Linked DNA regions of Homo sapiens: region 2 is linked to region 1. The links are contacts of gene promoters, found by promoter capture Hi-C in blood cells and fetal thymus (Javierre and others, 2016). All regions are on one chromosome and are shown on one strand. The core of a region is centred on a gene start or on the middle of the fragment in contact, and the rest is flanking DNA. Distances in the headings are between cores, read along the strand shown. Region 1 holds the start of CTLA4 (cytotoxic T-lymphocyte associated protein 4). Region 2 has its middle 59 kb from the start of RAPH1.

Evidence for each region. The method cuts DNA at HindIII sites, captures the fragments that hold promoters and counts their contacts. A CHiCAGO score of 5 or more calls a contact.
Region 2: a fragment that was not itself captured here is called in contact with the fragment with the promoter of CTLA4 in region 1 in 1 of 17 cell types (monocytes); the score reaches 6.1 in monocytes.

The regions. Positions count from the first base shown.
Region 1 is chr2:203,865,945-203,869,839 of GRCh38, reverse strand. CTLA4 (cytotoxic T-lymphocyte associated protein 4) reads right to left here and starts at 2,069. Exons shown (of 4, transcript NM_005214.5): 1 at 1,789-2,069. The coding sequence starts at 1,897. The HindIII fragment of the contact is 240 bases long and covers 1,963-2,202 here.
Region 2 is chr2:203,592,165-203,596,059 of GRCh38, reverse strand. No RefSeq gene overlaps it. Among named protein-coding and RNA genes, the nearest start is that of RAPH1, 59 kb to the right of the region's middle. The HindIII fragment of the contact is 2,745 bases long and covers 736-3,480 here.

The DNA.
Region 1 (3,895 bases), core at 820-3,319:
TTCCCTTGAACACTCCCATGCTCCTTTGTTCTCTTTTCCCACAGGATAAAGGAGACCAGCTCTCCATACAGAGAGGCTTGCATCAACTCAAAAATAGTGGCTGCATGCCAAATTACCTTCCTGTAACTAACCAGGCCCCTCTCCAGTCAGTCTGACAAGTGAAACTCAAAACTTGTGTTGCATGATGTCACTCATCTGCTCAATCCCTTTGACACTTTACTAACACTGATCGCAAAAACAAATACAATAAATAACATTCAATGAGTCCCCCATGATCCAATTCCAATCTATCACTCTGGTCTGAATTTCTAGGACACACTTTCCTGCTTATAAATCACCCTATATTAGAGACACTAGTCCCTTCCACCAAGCCACTTGCACGGGACATCTGTCCTCAGAAGAGAAAACAGTTTGGCAGCAGCCATTGTCATGTCTATTCCAGCAGCTCTAGCTAGCTAGACTACAGCTTCCTTCCCTAACCCTCACCTCTGCCTATCAGAGATGCCCTCTGAGCATCCTTAGCACTGTGATAACTCCATTGCAGTAGTTCATTACTTTCTGCTCTGTATTAAAGTTATTTGTGAGCTAATCATATCTCCTCACTCTTTTACTTGTGGTTCATGAACTCCTGTGAGCAGTGATTATAGCCCACCCAAGTGAGCACTCAATAATCTTTATTGTATTGACTCTAAGCTTAAGAAATCCTAAATGTCCTGCCCTCTCCCCAAGCAAGCTCACACTCATCACCACTAAATGCGGTCACACTCAACTTTCCAGTATTGGGAGGGTCCTGTTACTGGTTGAGATAAATTTACTTTAGGAAATTTAAATACTTCTAAGAGTGTTTATTTAATCTTTACATATTTAAAACATGTAAAAATAAGAAAACATATATGAATATTTCTTCTCCAGTAAAAATTAAATCATCAAATATCTTTTGAGTACCTACTTCATACAAACTACATGGTTTCTTAACCAAGAAGGTCTAGAGAGAGATAAGGTTGAGATTCAATGGATATACTCATCATTTTAAGCCGTGTAACAAACCTGGTGTCAGTCTCTGAAGAGCTGAAAACTGAGGATCTGCATCTGAAACCCACACGTAGGTCAGGCAACAATTAAGTATTGTATGCCAAACAGACTGGTGGCTTTCTTTCTTTCCTTTTCCTTGTCTTTTTTTTTTGGCAATTTCAAACTTTTATTTTTAAATAATTGGCTAATTAGCTAGTAGAATTGATTAAGAGAACCTTAAAACCTTGAATTAAGTAAAGAAGGCATTCTTCCCACAATTTCCCTACATTTTAAACAAGCTGGCTAATTCATTTATAAAGTATATGAATCCGAGGACCTTAAAACCTTGAATTGTATAGCAAAAAAACTCTTCCCAGGATTTGCTTAAGTCAATTTTTTTTAAAGGAACTTGTGAGCTCATCCTGAAACCCAGCTCAAATGTATTCAGGACTATGGCTATCCTTTCCCTCTTAAATCACTTCCAGTCTCATAGAAGGGTCTGAAATTGCCTGTGTCTCTCTACTAAACCAACTCACATGCATTCATGAAGCCCCTACTAAATACCTGGCGCTCTGTTCTGAGCTATCTCTTTGCCTTATTTGCTGCCGCCCAACTGCTCCCTGCTGGCCCTGGAATACAGAGCCAGCCAAGCCAGATTGGAGTTTTACCTTTAACTTCTGGCTTTGCTATAAATCACTGCCTTTGACTGCTGAAACAAATGAAACCCAGGTAGGAGAAACACCTCCTCCATCTTCATGCTCCAAAAGTCTCACTCACCTTTGCAGAAGACAGGGATGAAGAGAAGAAAAAACAGGAGAGTGCAGGGCCAGGTCCTGGTAGCCAGGTTCAGCTGAGCCTTGTGCCGCTGAAATCCAAGGCAAGCCATGGCTTTATGGGAGCGGTGTTCAGGTCTTCAGGAAGTAGAGCAAAACCTTTCAGGATCCTGAAGCTTTGAAATGTGTTTGAACCCACACAGAATCAAGGACTTTATATAGATAGCTTTGATCCCAGATATGTATTACACATGTGCACACACAGAAGGCACTTGAATAGAAAGCCTTTTTGTTTTGGTTTTACGAGAAAGGAAGCCGTGGGTTTAGCTGTTACGTCGAAAAGACAACCTCAAGCACTCAACTGAACAAAACAAGCCAATCCATGGATGGAAAATGTATTCAATTTGAAACTGAAGCTTCATGTTCACTTTGAGGATCTGGATAACTAAGTGGAGACTTGGAGAATTTCCTGGAGTACAAGGGTCCTCCTAAATCCCAATTTTATTCAATCTTCTGGGCATCCTTAACCATCCAGTCCAATTCATTTCATTGACAACTCCAAAACTACTAGGCTGCTAACTTTCTGAGCCCTTGGGCTAATGGCAGGATTTGTCTAGGCATCATTAATAAAAACTGTATTCTATCTGTGAAGCACCATCCTTCTAATGGTCCCTTGACAGCTTTACAAATAAGTTTATTTCTCCTAAATCCATTTAGCATTTGGTTAAGAGAAAAAAACTAAAATCACAAGAAATAAACTGAAAATAGGCGGAAAAGAAGCTGCCTCTGGTTTTGCAGAAGGAAAGAATTCAGGTGTTCTTAAAAGCCTTAACTCAACAGAGACAAAACAGAGTTGAAGAAGGTCCAAAGAAAAGCCAACCCAAATGATTCAAGAGATTAGAGCCGTCCATAAAAGGATAGACTTTTTTTTCTAATACAAATTTTTCAAGCAGAAAATTCAAAAGTGAAGATTAAATATAACCAGAGTCCTTAAATTTGTGACAGCTGTAGACAGGACCAATGATCTAACAAAAAGAATTTGAAACATTGAGGACCTTCCTTAAATCTGGAGAGTTTTCATACATTTTAATAAAGAAAGAAACATTCATGGGGAACCTGTAATATGCCCGGAATTCTGTGCACTTAGGATTGAATGATGACAAAACAAAAACATAGTTGATACCTTAAGGGGCTTCTAGAAGGCTGACATGCAAACAGACAGTTGTAACAGGGAATATGACATTTGCCTACTCCAGTCCGTCCATGGTTTCCCATTGTCCACACCTCAGCACAGCAGAGGAGACTCTGCAGAATACTCACCAAATGCCTCCCTCTTTGGCCTGTACCCCAGCATTCCCTCCCATTCCCCCTTCCTGCATTTGTCTTTCCTTCCACGTGCCTCTTTCAGGCCTCATCACCTTTACCCATGCTGTTCCTACTGCCTTTTTTCTCCTATTATCTTATTTTATACTCCTTCTCATCCTCCAGGACTTAGCTCAGCTGTCATCTCCTCCAGGAAGCCTCTTCTTTTTTTTTTTAAAATTTTATTATTATTATACTTTAAGTTTTAGGGTACATGTGCACAACATGCAGATTTGTTACATATGTATACATGTGCCATGTTGGTGTGATGCACAGAAGCCTTTTCTGACCTGCCTGTTTTCTATACACTGCTACACATTATAGAAACCTTCAAGCCCCAGCTCAAGCGCCAACAAGCAATAACAACCTAATGGGCACTTCCTAATGCCAGACTGGGCAACAGAGGTTTTTTAAAAAGTGAAAAACAAATGTTCCTGCCCTCAAGAGGAACACACAGCAGTGGCAGGGACAGACAGCTAAACCCATGATCATGATAGAGTGAGATCAATGCTGGAATTGAAGTATTATGTAGAGGAGCAGAAGCCAGTGGTTCAGCCTGTGGAAGTCAGAAAGGGCTTCTCAGAAGACGAAAAGCCTGAACTTATTATTGAGAACAGAGAAAAGGGTGGATATTCAGACAAGAAGAATAACATGGGCTAAAGTTGGAAACGGCATGAAGAGTTCATTATGGTCACAGGACAAAGCTTGTCTGGGGATGAGCAGAAGGTGCAAGCGGATGCTCTTAGCAG
Region 2 (3,895 bases), core at 859-3,358, 270 kb after region 1:
TTTTCAGATTTCAGCCCTAGTTAGCAAACTGATTAATGAAAACACAGCAGGTTGCCAGCATATTTATATGTTTGTTTCTTTCTCAGTCTAATACAAATAAAATAACAGTTATGGAAACCAGTAAGATTGTCCAGTGTCTTTCCATACTGGAATCTTTGCTACAATATCCCTGAAGGACGATTATCTAATTTCCACTGGAAAAGTTGACAACTTTGGGGGGCTGGCCCTTCCATTATCGGAAAGTTCTTGCCAGTGTTTTTGAAAAATTTTTATATTGAATTCACTGCCTTCTGCTTCACTACCATTGGCCCTTAGTTCACTTTCTACAAAAGCACAGGATGTCTTATGTCATTGAAAGAACACTAAATATAATTCAAGAGGCCTGCATTCTTGTCCCAACATCTCCACTTAACCACCATCCTACTTAGAGCAAAATGAAGTTAATCTCTTTGAGCTTGAGTTTCCTCCTTTATAAAACAGCTTACCGTTTTATAAAGGTCTACCTCACAAAGCCAATATAAGCATCAAATTAAATAATAAAAATAAAGGCGCTTTGGAAATTGTGAGATGCTACCTAAGTTAAAATGTTGCCATTATTCACACCTAAGTCCTCCAAGTATTTGAAGGCAGCTGGTATTCCCTTGGTCTTTCCTGGCATTATAGTTTCTAAATTTATTTTCCATGCTAATTGTCCTAATCTACAAGCCTCTCACTTGTCTTTGTCTCTTTTAAGCTTGGTTCTCAGAATAACACCCCAGAAATGGTAAAACTAGAAAGGAGAAGAGAGTGATTCTTTTCCCTGGCCCCCAGGCTGAGCACAGGATAACACTTCCATTACATTGCATTGGTGCATCTAACAGCCTTTACAGACTGTTGCTATATATTAAGTTAAGGTCAATTAATATCTCTCCTTTTTTTCCTTTTTTAATAGACTACATTTTAGAACAGCTTCAGGTTCACAGCAAAATTGACTGAAAGGTACAAAGATTTCCCATATTCCCCCTATCCCCACACATGCATTGCCTCTGTGTCTTTTTCACATGAGCTGCTATCAAACCAGGCCTACCCCTTCCTGAACCTGTTTAATGTTAGGGTTAACATCAATGAATACTTTTATATTTATGTGCATTGACTTCATCTCTGTTGAACTTCATATGATTGCTATCAGCTCATAATCAAGGAACAGAGGACTATTTCATTATCCTTCAGCTACTTCAGCTGACCTTTGTGTATGGAAAGGGGGTTTCTGTAGCAGTGTCTCACAGGAAGACTTCTGAGAAATCTCAAAATGTTCAGTAAACAAAAAACACTTGGAGAAAGATCTATGGATTGCAGAAGGAAATCTCCCTAACCAAAGTCTCATAACTAGCATTCCTGTGGTGAGAAAAGACTGTTTTAATAAGATTTTATTATTAAGATGATTGATCTAGTAAAGTATTTTTAGCATTAATAGATATCTCTGCTGCAAACATAATTGCAATTCCAAAGTTTGAAAATATTTTTCTATGTTCTGAACATTTAACATGGATTTTTAAAAATTAAAACACTTTTTCAATAAAACAACACCTATAGATGCGTATTATCCATCACGTGAAACAGAAGTATTGAGACTTTTTCCAAAGGAGGCACCAATTATTGAGTGTAAAAGCATGGGTGTGCCGGGCATGGTGGCTCACATCTTTAATCTCAGCACTTCAGGAGGCTGAGGCAGGAGGATTGCTTCAGGCCAGGAGTTTAAGAGTACCCTTGGCAACGTAGCAAGACCCTGTCTCTACAGGAAAAAAAAATTTTTTAATTATCCAGGCATGGTCATACCTGCCTGTAGTCCCAGCTACTTGAGAGCCTGAGGCAATAGGATGCCTTCAGCCCAGGAGTTAGAGACTGCAGTGAACTAGAATCACATCACTGCACTCCTCCCTGGGTGACAAAGCAAGACCTTGTCTCTAAAAAATAAATAAGTAAATAAAAGCATGGCTGGGAGTGCTGAAGGGACATGGAAAAAGGCTACTTTATTTTTGGCCTCTCCTAAGAAAGTTAGAGGTGGCCAGCAGATAGGACATGGTACCCTTCACCTTCAACAGGCAAGGATTAACCAGGCATCCTTTGGGTAAAAGTCACATAAACTCATTAACAATGGCTTATGCAAAAAGAGAATGCATTAATTATGCAGTAATTAAAATGTCCTGAAGTTAGTGTTAGCAATTCCATTTCTGCATATATCCCTAGACCTGCATGAAGATGTCAATGACAGCATTGTTCATGGTAGTCGGAGCTTTACTGAACCTAGGAGCTCTAGCCACAGTTGGGCCAATGGGTTATATACAGTAGTGTGGTGAGAACTTTAAAACACAGTACTGGGTTAAAAACAAAAAAAAAGAATCTTAGTGAAATCTATAATATAATGCCATTTGTATTACCTTTTTAATTTAAATTTATATTAAAAACACATATATACACAAAACGATGCCAATATATGTTATTGGGTATGTATGTATCTTTGAAAAATACATAAACACATTTAAGTGGTGCCTGTAGTAACAGGAGAATGAGAGAGGGAATGCTGGATGAAGAACAGTAATTTTTTAAGTGAATGTTGTCTTTTACACACCAAGTAGTGATGTATGTCAAGAACTGAGGAGTATGATTTACTCAGCTCCGTGCACCATTGGTCCAAGACTTCTAAAAATAAAAAATAAAGGCTGGGCGCGGTGGCTCACGCCTGTACTCCCAGCACTTTGGGAGGCCAAGGCAGACGGATCACGAGGTCAGGAGATCGAGACCATCCTGGCTAACACGGTGAAACCTCGTCTCTACTAAAAATATCAAACATTAGCTGGGCGTGTTGGCGGGTGCCTGTAATCCCAGCTACTCGGGGGGCTGAGGCAAGAGAATGGCGTGAACCCGGGAGGTGGAGCTTGCAGTGAGCCGAGATCCAGCTGCTGCACTCCAGCCTGGGGAAGTGAGACTCCGTCTCAATAAATAAATAATAAAAAAATTAAAAGAAAACAGATCCCTGAGTCTTTTTTTTTCCATCAATGTAATCATGAATCAGGTGGACTCTGTTTCTGTCTCTCAACTCACTTCTCTCTGAATTGGCTTCTTTCTCCAGCAAGCTCTTACCACGTGAAGGGAAAGACAATTCTGGACACAACAAGTATGCATAATGTTTACAGTTCATGATCTCAGGAAGAGAAAGACTTTTGCCATTCCTAACCCTCTACAGACAAGGACTCTGCTTGGCCCTGCTTGAGTCATGTGCCCACCTCCAGACCCATCACCGTCACCTGGAAACAGGTTGTCCTAATTGGTCAGCCTGCACATACACCTACTTTTGCAATGGGGGAGGCAAGGCCCTTTGATTGGCAGCCCCACTAGTGGATGCCACCTCCCAGCTACAGTAAGGCACCTTTAGCACAGTTCCAGGGTTAAAGAAGCCCTAAGCAGTCCCAATTCAGAGATAACTTTACTCTGACAAAAGCTTGTTTATTAATCAGGCAGGACCCTATAAAGTGCAGTCAGGAAATGGCTTTATTTTCTTTTTCTGCCGTGCTTGTGCTTCAGACTTGCTCTGTCCAATCTCTTTTTCCTGACCCCAGACAATATCTTGAGCAAACTCTGTAACTTTTCCAGTGCTTTTCACTTTTGTAATAATCTTATTTCAAGATACTACATGGGACCAGGTACAGTGGCTCACACCTGTAATCCCAGCACTTTGGGAGGCCGAGGCAGGCAGATCACTTGATGTCAGGAGTTTAAGACCAGCCTGGTCAACATAATGAACCTCATCTCTACTAAAAATACAAAAATTAGTCAGGCATGATGGCACACACCCGTAGTCCCAACTACTTGGGAGGCTGAGGCAGGAGGATTGTTTGAACCCAGGAGATGGAGGTTG